4 separate regions of the Homo sapiens genome follow, and regions 1, 2 and 3 are each linked to region 4. The links are contacts of gene promoters, found by promoter capture Hi-C in human tissues and cell types (Jung and others, 2019). All regions are on one chromosome and are shown on one strand. Each heading gives the region's core, a stretch centred on a gene start or on the middle of the fragment in contact. The rest is flanking DNA. Distances are from core to core; before and after follow the strand shown.

Region 1 (3,054 bases), core at 451-2,950, 140 kb after region 4:
GTGAGTCACGAGAGGAGGTTGACTAACAACTCATTGGAATAAAAGTCAAATGAGTTTTGGTTTTACTTTTTAACTTACCTTTGTATCTATTACAGTAACATCCATTTTATACTGAGAAAGGTCTGCTCCCGGATCTATACTCCACTGGATATTTTCAAAGGATACATCTTAGGTAAAGGGAAAGAGCATGCAATTAAAAAACTGATTTCAAAAATTCTCATCACTTTAAAATATTATGGGACCTAAAGAATAGAAAATTTTTGCAAATCATATGTCTGGTAAAGGACTTATATCTAAGATATATAAAGAACTCTCACAGCTCCATAATAAAAAGACAAATATCCCAATTAAAGATGGGCAAAGGATCTAAATAGACAGTTCTCCAAAGAAGATATACAAATTGCCAATAAACATGAAAGGATGCTCAACATCATCAGCAGTCAAGGAAATGCAAACCAAAACCACGAGATGGCAAAAATCAAAAAGCTATAACAAGTGCTAGTGAGGAGGTGGAGATACTGGGACCCTCACATACTGCTGGTGGGAATGTGAAATGGTGTAGCTGCTTTGGAAAACAGGCAGTCTTTCAAAAGGTAAAATGTAGAATTGGCATATGGCCCAACAATTCCACTCCTAGGTATAATCCAAGAAAAATGAAAACATACATCCACACAAAAACCTGTATACAAATGTTCATAGCAGCATTGTTCATAATAGCAAAAAAGTGACAACTTGAATGTCAGCTAATAAATACCTAAAATATGGTATACTTATGCAATAAAAAATTATCCAATAAAAAGAAATAAAATATTGATATATGCTGTAACACAGATAACTGAAAACATTATGCCAAGTGAAAGAAGTAACAAAAGATCATATATTAAACGATTCCATTTATATGAAAACTCCCAGAATAGGCAAATCTACAAAGAGAGAAAGTAGATTTAAGGTGCCTAGGACTGCAGAGGGTATATGGGGAAGGAAAGTGATGAAAATGTTGTAAACCTAGACTACAGTGATGGTTGTACAACTCTGTGGGTATACCAAACCACTGAATTGAACATTTTAATGGGTGATTTTTATGGTATGTGATTTATATTTCAATTAAAATTTTTTAAAATTAAAAACTATAACATTGATGGGGTTTTCAATATATGTAGATAAAATACACAGGAACTACATAAAGTGTAGTTACAGAACATGAAATAGTACATTAACTCCAAGTAGATTGTAAAAGGCTAAGTAGGTAGATACTGTAATCCCTAGAGCAACCATGAAAAAAATAAAAACAAAAAGCTCAAAAAAAATCATGAATGATAGTGAAAAAAATGTTTTCATATAGAGACTAAAACACTCACTGGAAAAACAACTAATGACTGTGCTTCAGGAAAAAGGGAAAATAAACCCAGAATAAAGGAATAACTTGCCAATGAAGAATACAAGAAAAAATACTGCACTTGAACTACAGAAATGTTTGGTGGCTGAAAAAAAAAATTACTTTTTTAAAGATAGCAGGCTGGGCGTGGGTGGTTCACACCTGTAATCCCAGCACTTTGGGAGGCCAAGGCAGGCAGATGGCTTGAGTCCAGTAGTTCGAGACCAACCTGGGCAACAAGGCGAAACCCAGTCACTTCAAAAAATAAAAAAATCAGCTGGGTGTGGTGGTGCATGCTTGTAGTCCCAGCTATCCAGGGGGCTGAGATGGGAGGATCCACCTGAGCCTGGGAGGTCAAGGCTGCAAGTGAGCCGTGATCATGCCACTGCACTCCAGTCTGGGTGACAGAGTAGGACCCTGTCTCAAATAATAATAATAATAATAATAAAATATAGCAAAATTATGAAAAGATGCCTATATATCTTAAGGCAAACAATTTTTTTTTTCTTTTTTTTTTTTGAGACGGAGTCTTGCTCTGTCACCCAGGCTGGAGTGCAGTGCAGTGGCACGATCTCGGCTCACTGCAAGCTCCACCTCCCGGGTTCACACCATTCTCCTGCCTCAGCCTCCCGAATAGCTGGGACTACAGGCGCCTGCCACCATGCCTGGCTTATTTTTTGTGTTTTTAGTAGAGATGGGGTTTCACCACGTTAGCCAGGATGGTCTCGATCTCCTGACATCGTGATCCACCAGCGTCGGCCTCCCAAAGTGCTGGGATTACAGGTGTGAGCCACCGTACCGGGCCAACAATGTTTTTAAAGGAGTTTAAAAACGTATATAAGTGGCCGGGCGCAGTGACTCACGCCTGTAATCCCAGCACTTTGGGAGGCCGACGCTGGTGGATCACGATGTCAGGAGATCTAGACCATCCTGGCTAATGTGGTGAAACCCCGTCTCTACTAAAAATACAAAAAAAAAAAATTAGCCGGGCATGGTGGGCGCCTATAGTCCCAGCTACTCGGGAGGCTGAGGCAGGAGAATGGTGTGAACCCGGGAGGCGGAGCTTGCAGTGAGCCGAGATCGCGCCACTGCACTCCAGCCTGGGCGACAGAGCGAGACTCCGTCTCAAAAAAAAAAAAAAAAAAAAAAAAGAACAGAAAAATCACCGGTAAAATGTGAGAATCGTCCTATAAATACAGACACCTGAAGGAAGAAATAAGTTTTTTTCCAAAACAATTCAATCTATTTAAAAAAGTAAATAATGACATTCAATCTGAAGTCATTAAAAAAGTGGAGATCCTGTTTATGGTGTACACACCTTGGTTGTTTTGTAGAGACTTTATTTTACCAGTTCTACATGGATTTAACTGAAGAACTGATGCAAGTTCACATCCTCCATGGTCTGACCTGGTTTGTATTTTTATTGGCTCATGAGAACCAGCACTCTAAAACAGAAATAATTGTTAGCTCTAAATGAAATCACAAGCAATCATTTTAATCAAAATCCTTGAACATTTAACACAAACCTTTATGTCATCTAAAACATTCTCAGTCTCCAAACTTTCACGTGGACGTAGAGGAATTTTAAAGACAGCATTTTCTTCTTTTATTTGTAATGATGGTTTATTGTCTGGAGAGCATTTATTCAAGGGCTGAAGGATGATGCATTCCTGTGAACA
Region 2 (3,097 bases), core at 517-3,016, 190 kb after region 4:
AAATAAAACAAAACAAAATAAAATAAAATGAAGTTATTTAATCAAATATTAAAATAGTAAAAAACTAGAAAATTTTTTCTGTTGAATATTGCTGTGCCCTCTATTTTCTCTATGCTCCCCATTTTCTGCAATGTGATTAACATAAAGGGGAAAAAAGCCCTCAATATTTACTCTTTAATTTCTCAATCAGTGCTTTTACTATTCTACAATTTACCCAATTATAGATCTACTCAAGAATTTTTATTTGGTGGCAGTTAGTTACCAATAAATAATTACTAGTTGACTGATTTCCGAAGAACCCAAGAATATTTACTATATGCCTTTGGTAGTTCACAGATTCTATCAAGTTATAAATCAGAAAAGTTTTTCATATATGTGTATAGAAACATTAATATATTTATCATTCCTAAGAACATAATTTTTCTTTATTTGTTAAACTTGATACAATCTTTTGGACAACATAATTTAGACAAATACAAATTTTAAAAACAAACCTATACATTTCCCAACCATGGTCACATAGACACTAAAGAAGAAGTCATCTCTTCTTATTGCCCTCCATAGTAATGATTTATTGCCAGGAAATCCATATACTGTGGAAAAATAAAGGCCCTGGAGAATTTTTTGGATGTTACATTTTTTCCTTATGTCTCAAATTTCACCTTTAGAAAATGTCCAACTGATATGACACATTTTATCTTCGATTCTATGCTCTATAATTTGAATAAATAAAATGTTATAAATAAGATGGTGAAAAAAATGTTACAGATAAACCTGTATTGAATGTTCACAGCAGTCTTAGCCAAACATTAGAAACAACCCAAACATCCTTCAATAAGTGAGTTGTTTAAAAAACCAAAACCTGTGGTGCATCCATGCACATGTTTTCCCTTCTCAAAAATGTGCGAAATTTTACTTGACAGATTTTTTTTTTGTTTTTAATTTTGGCTGACTTCTAACAATCAGTTCTGCCTTTAAAAGTGAAAAGTGCAGCCAAAGATGAAATGGATTCTTGCCACAAACCATTTTAAGAAAAGAAACAATGAGACAGAAAATCCATATAAACTTCAAAAGAAAATCCTTGGGAAACAGGGGAAGAACTACTCTTTTATCTGGTAAGCATTCAACACCTGTGAGGCATTTGTTCTGTCACGTAGATCACCCTGAAACAGGTTTATATGTGTATATGTGTGTGTGTTTAAATTTTAGCATTTGCTATTCACCAAGTCAATTAGGAATCTACAATTAGAACCCCTATAAAGTGTGCTTTAATCCTGCTCCACACCCATCGGAAGGAATGAGGCTATACAACAATGTAGCTCCTGTATGAACAGGTAATCTGTTGAACAAAGTATCTGGGATTGTAACACTGGCAACCTAAGATACCTATTGAGGAAACAGTGTTCACAAGACCAAGCACTGTGCTACAATTAACCTTACACACACTCATACATAAATTTTGGAGGAAATGAAACAATCAAGGGCCTGTATATTGTAATACACAAAGCAAATTTAAGAGTTCAGAAATGAGGCAAGAATTCCTTATGCATTAACAAAAATCACTGCTATGTTCTTATTTTAGTTCTTTACCCAGACCAAACCATATATATATATAAAATGTATGTACTGTCATTTTAAACAAGTTATTTATGGTTCTGAATTATAAATAATACCCCTAACATCACTTTCTTGACAAACAGTGGGGGCTTTATATACAAATGAAGTAATTAAACTTCAACCAAAACTACTACTGCTAGCATTTCTATAATTGCCTAACAAATTATTTAAATTCCAAAGCCATACTTAAGCTGTGCTCACTTTGCTTAAGATTGAATTATCTCAAAATGGGTAAATTAATTTTTGTGGATTTTATTATTTACAGATGTGAATGCAAATAAAAAATAAAAGGTGTGAGAGTTACTGATAATAATAATAATATTATTATTATTTTTGAGACAGGATTTCTGTCACCCAGGCTGGGGTGCAGTGGTGCAATCACGGCTCACTGTAGCCTTGACTTACCAGGCCCAAGCGATCCTCCTGCCTCAACCTCTCAAGTAGCTGGGACCACAGGCACACACCACCATGCCTAGCTAATTAAAAAAATGTTTTTTGTAGAGACAGGGTCTCGCTTTGTTGTCCAGGCTGGTCTCAGACTCCCGGACTCAAGTAATCCTCCTGCCTTGGCCTCCCAAGTGTGTGCCACTGTGCCCAGCCTGACAGCATTCTTAATAATGAGTGGGACAATTCCTTTCACTGTTAATTTGTGCAGTCTTAAGATAATGTTCTCTTTTTAGAATTTTTGATTCTATGTATAGAAAATAAATGGAGCAATTAAAAAATGAATCAAGAAATATTTATCCTGTCCTATTAGAGCCCCCAAACTTTCCCATTTCTTCAAGGTGTTTCAACTTTGCCTCACAAAACCTACCTAGTTTTCTTTGAAACTGATTACCATATTTACTAGACACAGAAAATATATTAGCTAGATGTTAATAGCAGACGCTGGCATAGGCAAAAGATCATTTATTAAAATAGTGGTATTCTGAAAATAAATATTTTAAATTCTATTTTATTATTTGTGCTTTTGATAATAAACTTGATACTGAAAAAGATTTTTAAAGGCAATAAAATTTTGTACCCAAATAAATATGCTTTAAAACTTTTGAAATTTAAAGAATTCTGAAGTTTCCATTAAATTCTGTGAGTTCGGAATTTAAAGCATAAACACTGTATATCATCAGTAACAATCTGTGACACTGATACTAGCAGCATTTGTCACAAAAGGAACATATCATGAAATGATACAATCATGAAAGGATAAAATTATCTTAAAGGATATAAAAACTCGGTCATAAATGTCTCCAGAATTTTTCAACAAAAATGGTCTGGTTTGCATATTGCTAGTCTCCAACAGAAATTAGAGCATTTTGTCTATTCTTGCCTAGTTTTAAAAGACATGGATGCAGTTTATTATATTGTTGTGATCAGTGCACATACTGTCATATTTTGCTATCATTTTATTATGTTTTGGCAAAAGAGGCAAAAATAATTCTAAACACGTGTAGCAGAGCATTCAGATTCAAGCAAGTTCCTA
Region 3 (2,831 bases), core at 62-2,561, 170 kb after region 4:
CAGAAAAACCTGGACCTGGACAGATATGTATCAGACTATTAACAGTAGTTACCTCTGGGAGCAGAATAAAGCTATATTCTTTCTTACCTCTTTTAAAAACAATGAGCATATATTCAATATTCTTGCTTGAATAACCACAGGGTAGCAATATAATTAACAGAAAAAAATAAAAGACAGAATTAGTTTGGAAAAGAAGATAATTAATTAGATTTTGAATATATTGATTGTGAGTTGCTTATGGGAAATCCAGGTAATGGTCACCAAAAGAAATAAATAGTTATAAGAGAATAAGGTTAACAGAAGTATTAAAAGAATAAAAGAAGGCGGCTAAGAATGTAGAAAAACTCTACACTCAATAGGTAAGGAGAATAAACTGAAAATAGTATACTTATGAAAACAGTATGTCATAAATACCAAGAGAGAAAACAAGTGTAGAACAATAAATTGTCTGCTTTGTATTTAACTTTACTAAGTATTAAGGTTACATGAAATAAAGATTAAAACCAAAGAAGCAAATATGGACATGTCCAAAAAAAAAAAACACCACCTGCTTCTTGTCTTACAACTGATGACTTAAGACCAATGTGGACAGTATTTGCACAACCTTTTTGTACCCTATTTCTTACTAAATTAAGCATGAGATTAAATCTACAAAAAGTACAAAAAAGGACATTTGAACTTTTACTAAATAAGGAAAAATATATGTAAACCATCCATTTAATTACAACCAATTTACTAATAGGTCTTAAAAATAATACATTACATACTTTAAATAATAAATGAAGAAAGGAAACTCACTAAGTTCTGTAATAAGTTTAAGATTCTGCTGCCGGATATTTTCAAACTCTTGCTGTTTTTTCCGCATATGTTCTTCAGTTACTGCACAGCGATCACATAAGCCTGCTCTTAACCTATGAAACAAAACAAGGTATTTTTCATCCACTAAAAGAGATTTCCTTCTTTGGAATTCCAAGACTTTTATAAAGATTTAAGGAACTGACTTGGCAAATACTGTGAAAATCAACTAGATTAATGATGTTATTATACCTTTAACATATTCTTATATAGGCTGAAATCATGTTATACCACCATTTTCTTCAGATTGCAATTCTATAAAAATCTGCCAATTTTAAACTCATGCTAAGGGAACTTATTTATTGAAGAAGCTGACCTTGTTTTAATTTGTTATGGTCAAAATATGAACCCTAGTCTAATACCAAGGGGTAGAATTATACCTGAAGCAACTTTGCAGCTGCTTTGCTCAGCACAGTATGTCACCCATAGTGAGTGTTCAATAATATTTTTGATGAAAAATTAAATTCATCAAAATTTATTTGCCAATCATTGGCAGGGCACAGTGGCTCATGCCTGTAATCTTAGCCCTCTGGGAGGCTGCGGCGACAGGATCATGAGGTCAGGAGTTCAAGACCAGCCTGGCCAATACAGTAAACACCGTCTCTACTAAAAAATACAAAAATTAGCCAGCTGTGGTGGTGCTCGCTTGTAGTCCCAGCTACTCGGGAGGCTGAGGCAGAAGAATCGCTTGAACCCGGGAGGTGGAGGTTGCAGTGAGCTGAGATCATGCCACTGCACTCCAGCCTGGGGGACAGAGCAAGACTCTGACTCAAAAAAAAAAAAAATTTTTTTTTGTCAATATTGTTGAATAAAGGTCAAGAAATACAAGGGAGAAAAAGTCACCTCATATTTTCCTTTTGGCATTAAAAAAATTATTAGTAAAAATTCACAATGTATTACATAAAAAAAATTACAGGCTGGGCACAGTGGCTCACGCCTGTAATCCCAACACTTTGGGAGGCCGAGGCGGGCGGAACACAAGGTCAGGAGATCGAGACAACCCTGGCTATCACAGTGAAACCCCTGTCTCTACTAAAAATACAAAAAATTAGCTGTGCGTGGTGGCGGGCACCTGTAGTCCCAGCTACTCGGGAGGCTGAGGCAGGAGAATGGCGTGAGCCTGGGAGGCGGAGCTTGCAGTGAGCTGAGATTGCACCACTGCACTCCAGCCTGGGTGACAAAGCGAGACTCCGTCTCAAAAAAAAAAAAAAAAAAATACGAAATAGCTTTTACTAATTATTTGTGACTGTTGAAGAGAAAAACACATATCACACAAGCAGGTGAGGAAGAGTTATATTCCAAAATGTTAATAATAGTTATCTTGTAGGTGACAGTATTATGGGAGATTTTCTCTTCTTCATTTTCCATATTTTTGAAACATTTTCCAATTTCATTATTTACCTAATCAGAAAAAAATACAGTTAAAAAGGAGACACATACCCCACGTTAAGAATTCAGGAAATAAATTCGAAGATAATTGTTTTTTTTTTTTTTTTGAGACGGAGTCCTGCTCTGTCACCCAGGCTGGAGTGCAGTGGCGCAATCTCAGCTCACTGCAAGCTCCGCCTCCTGGGTTCACACCATTCTCCTGCCTCAGTCTCCCGAGTAGCTGGGACTACCGGTGCCCGCCACCTCTCCTGGCTAATTTTTTGTATTTTTCATAGAGATGGGGTTTCACTGAGTTAGCCAGGATGGTCTCGATCTCCCAACCTCGTGATCCGCTTGCTTCCGCCTCCCAAAGTGCTGGGATTACAGGCGTGAGCCGCTGCACCTGGCCCAAAGATAATAATTTCAAGTCAATAACTAAGCCAATAATATAATAAGTATTTAAGTGTTGGCAGAGCATGGTGGCTTACGCCTGTAATCCCAGTACTTTGGGAGGCCGAGGTGGTCAGATCACCTGAGGTCAGGTGTTAAGAGACCAGCCTGGCCAATGTGGCAAAACCTCATCTCTACTAAAAACAAAAATTAGCTGG
Region 4 (2,700 bases), core at 114-2,613:
ACAAGCGCGGTGCTCCTCTGCGAATGCTGGGCTCGTGCAAACACGTGTAACCCCGCACTCCCTGGGGACGCCCCCTCTTTTGGGTGCCCTCGTGGTTTGGGATTCGGGCCCGGAGCACAGGATCCGGCAGGGCGCGGGAAAATGGGAGCAACCCGTGTCCCGTAGCCCAGAGACCGCGGGGAGGCTGGGAGCGCCGGGCGGGACGCAGGGTTGGGTGCGCGTCGCATCCCGGATACTCACCGGGACCTCTGCAGCTGCTCGAAGGCGCTGGTGCTGCCGCCCTGGCCTGGCTGCTCCAGGGAGCAGTAGTTCTGCGAAGTCGGCCTGGAGAAGGCGATGGGCAGGATTCCCTGAGTGAACGAGTTGAGGCGTCCCCGACTGCCGCTCCCACTCCCGGGGGTCCCGGAGCCCAAAAAGGCGGCCGCCGGCACCTGCACGCTGATAAAGGCATCGTCCTCCTCCAACTCCTCCTGCCCGGCGGCCCCGGACCCGTCGAGCAGCTGCAGTTGGGCACAGGCGGCGAGAGGCGCCGGCCGGGGCGGCTGCCACTGCTCCCCCGACGCCCGGCCGGCGCCCAGGGGACTCGCGAACCCCCGCGCCACCCCGGGGCCGGACACGGTCGCATGGCCGCCAGGAATCAAGGGCGGCAGCGACGAGGGCTGTGGGAGGCAGGGGCCGGACCCAGCGGCTAACCCCGCAGCCGGCGTGCCCGGCGCGGCGAGCGCGATGCAGCCGCCCCGCTCGGCAGCGGCGAGCAAGCTGAACCGAGTCCTCGCGCCGCAGGCGCCGCCGGCGCCCGGCTTGGCCGCGCCGCCCTCCTCGCCACCGCCCCACTCCGCGTCCTGCGGCGGCAGCCGGCCGTCCAGCGAGATGTTGGTGAGGAAGGAGAGGGCAGCCTGGCGGCGCCGCGGGTCCATGCGCGGCTTCCGGGGGGGTTCGGGCGGCGGCTGGGCCGGCGCGGCGGCCGCGGGCTGAGGCTGGGGCTGCGGCGGCGGCTGCTGCAATCCGCTGGCGCCCGCGGCGTCGGTGCCGGCGCTGCCGCTGCTGCAGGCGGCCGTGGTGGCGGCCGCCGCCGCCGCCGCCATTGTGTCCGTCTGCGGCGGGATTTCCGCGATGCCCGGAGAAGCGAGCGGCGCCCGAGCGCTAAGCGGCGGGCGCGAGCGGCGGCGACCCGGGCTGGGTAGGGCGCGGGGATCGGGCGGCGTGCGCGGCGGTCCAGCCCCCCCGCGGGCGGGCCATGCTCGCCCCTCGGTGCTGGGGATGGGGGCGCCGCCGCCCCGGCCCACGCGCACGCCTCGCTACCTAGCTCGGCTAGTTCGGCTCGCTGGCTGGCCGCCCGCCGGTCGCCTGGCCGCTGGCTCGCGGGCTCCGGGGCCGGGTGTCCGTATTTATAGGTGCGCGCGCCCCGCGCTCGCGCTCCAAAGCCCTCTTTGCAATAACACGGAATCACGTGTGGGGAATGCGACCTGGGAGGAAAACAAAGCCGCAGGCGGCGGCCGCAGAGGCAGACGGCGGGAGGCAAGGGGCCACGGGAGGAGGAAGAGGAGGACGCGAGAGCCGAGCGGGTGGTGGGGCGGGGGATCGGCCCGGCTGTCCGGGTTGTCGGAGCTGCCTGCTGGGAGAGTTGGCGACTCCCGGGGCCGCGGAAGCCAGGTGCGGGAGGCGAGCACGTTTCCCCCGCGCGCTCGCACTGGGAATTGGGTGAGCGAGCAGAACCCGGTGGGTTAGGTCCTGGGGCTGTGCTCCTGGGAGAGTTGTGGGTCTACAGGACGGTTATGTGGAGCGTTGCAGAGTTTTGGACTGCGAGCGAGTTACTTGGACCCCGCAAGGCCGTTGGTCCCCGAGAAGTAAATAGATCCTTTTCATAATAACACGGGTAAGTCCACAGCCCCTATGGAGACTGTCCCACCGTAAAGCTATCGCTAACAACCATTGCAGTTGGGTCTATTCATTCCCAGGCCAAGGATGCAGCCCCCGGGATAAATGCACGCCTTGGGATGCATAAGAGCCCAGAAGCACGAACATCTTACATGTGGCCAACGAACTCACGCATCCCCAATCCATGGTATTGTCACTTTTCATCTCTCTCTTAGCAAAGGACAACGCAAATTTTTTACTTTGGCTCTGAAATGTGCTCCATTTTCTGTGAAGACCCAGGTGGGCTAAAATGACCTTACACTCTTTTCCCCTGGTCACCTTGCAAATTTTTGTAGATTATGATCTCTTCTCCCTCATAAACTGGGACCAATGTGGACAGTTACCCTGTCGTTTATCTCATAAGCACGTTTGGCACCTACCATGTCTTCTATAAATACGGGTTCCTGACGGCCCTCCCAGAGCAGTAGCTCTGAATCTGGGAGGAGTCGCAGTCCCCACCCACAACGAATGCTTGTTTTGGTTGGGGGTGGGGGCGGGGGCGGGGACAGGGTGGAGGAGTTCACCTGGAGGGATCTGAAAACGTGTGCGGGTTTCCCCAGGCGGTATGGGCAACTTAACAAATGCAGTAAGGAACAATTGCCACACTGAATTAAGCTCTGTGACACCTAAGAAACCTGCTGCACTTTTGAGGGAGAAGCAATGTGTTTCAGATCAACGGATTAATTTAATTAAAGGTTTAAATTTAGCCCTGGAGCTAATGGGTAACTCTACATTGAAATTCCACTCCATTTCAAGTTCAGGAAAGTAAATTGAGTAATGGAG

Evidence for each region. Contacts are between HindIII fragments. The study calls those that stand out against the background at their distance.
Region 1: a fragment that was not itself captured here is called in contact with the fragment with the promoter of CABLES1 in region 4 in 1 of the 25 tissues and cell types used here (spleen).
Region 2: a fragment that was not itself captured here is called in contact with the fragment with the promoter of CABLES1 in region 4 in 1 of the 25 tissues and cell types used here (mesenchymal stem cells).
Region 3: a contact is called between a fragment that was not itself captured here and the fragment with the promoter of CABLES1 in region 4, in 1 of the 25 tissues and cell types used here (lymphoblastoid cells).

What each region holds. Positions count from the first base shown.
Region 1 is chr18:22,993,487-22,996,540 of GRCh38, reverse strand. It overlaps RBBP8 (RB binding protein 8, endonuclease), which reads right to left. Exons shown (of 19, transcript NM_002894.3): 11 at 2,902-3,054; 12 at 2,694-2,820; 13 at 79-167. Among named protein-coding and RNA genes, the nearest start is that of RBBP8-AS1, 61 kb to the right of the region's middle. The HindIII fragment of the contact is 5,082 bases long and covers 1-3,054 here.
Region 2 is chr18:22,942,290-22,945,386 of GRCh38, reverse strand. All of the region lies in intron 2 of RBBP8 (RB binding protein 8, endonuclease), which reads right to left. Among named protein-coding and RNA genes, the nearest start is that of RBBP8-AS1, 10 kb to the right of the region's middle. The HindIII fragment of the contact is 3,388 bases long and covers 73-3,097 here.
Region 3 is chr18:22,966,886-22,969,716 of GRCh38, reverse strand. RBBP8 (RB binding protein 8, endonuclease) reads right to left here. Exons shown (of 19, transcript NM_002894.3): 5 at 799-911. Among named protein-coding and RNA genes, the nearest start is that of RBBP8-AS1, 35 kb to the right of the region's middle. The HindIII fragment of the contact is 4,619 bases long and covers 1-2,831 here.
Region 4 is chr18:23,134,148-23,136,847 of GRCh38, reverse strand. CABLES1 (Cdk5 and Abl enzyme substrate 1) reads right to left here and starts at 1,363. Exons shown (of 10, transcript NM_001100619.3): 1 at 241-1,363. The coding sequence starts at 1,085. RefSeq lists silencers at 495-744, 845-1,054, 1,185-1,394, 1,515-1,594, 2,355-2,464 and 2 more and an enhancer at 2,015-2,164. The HindIII fragment of the contact is 17,284 bases long and covers 1-2,700 here.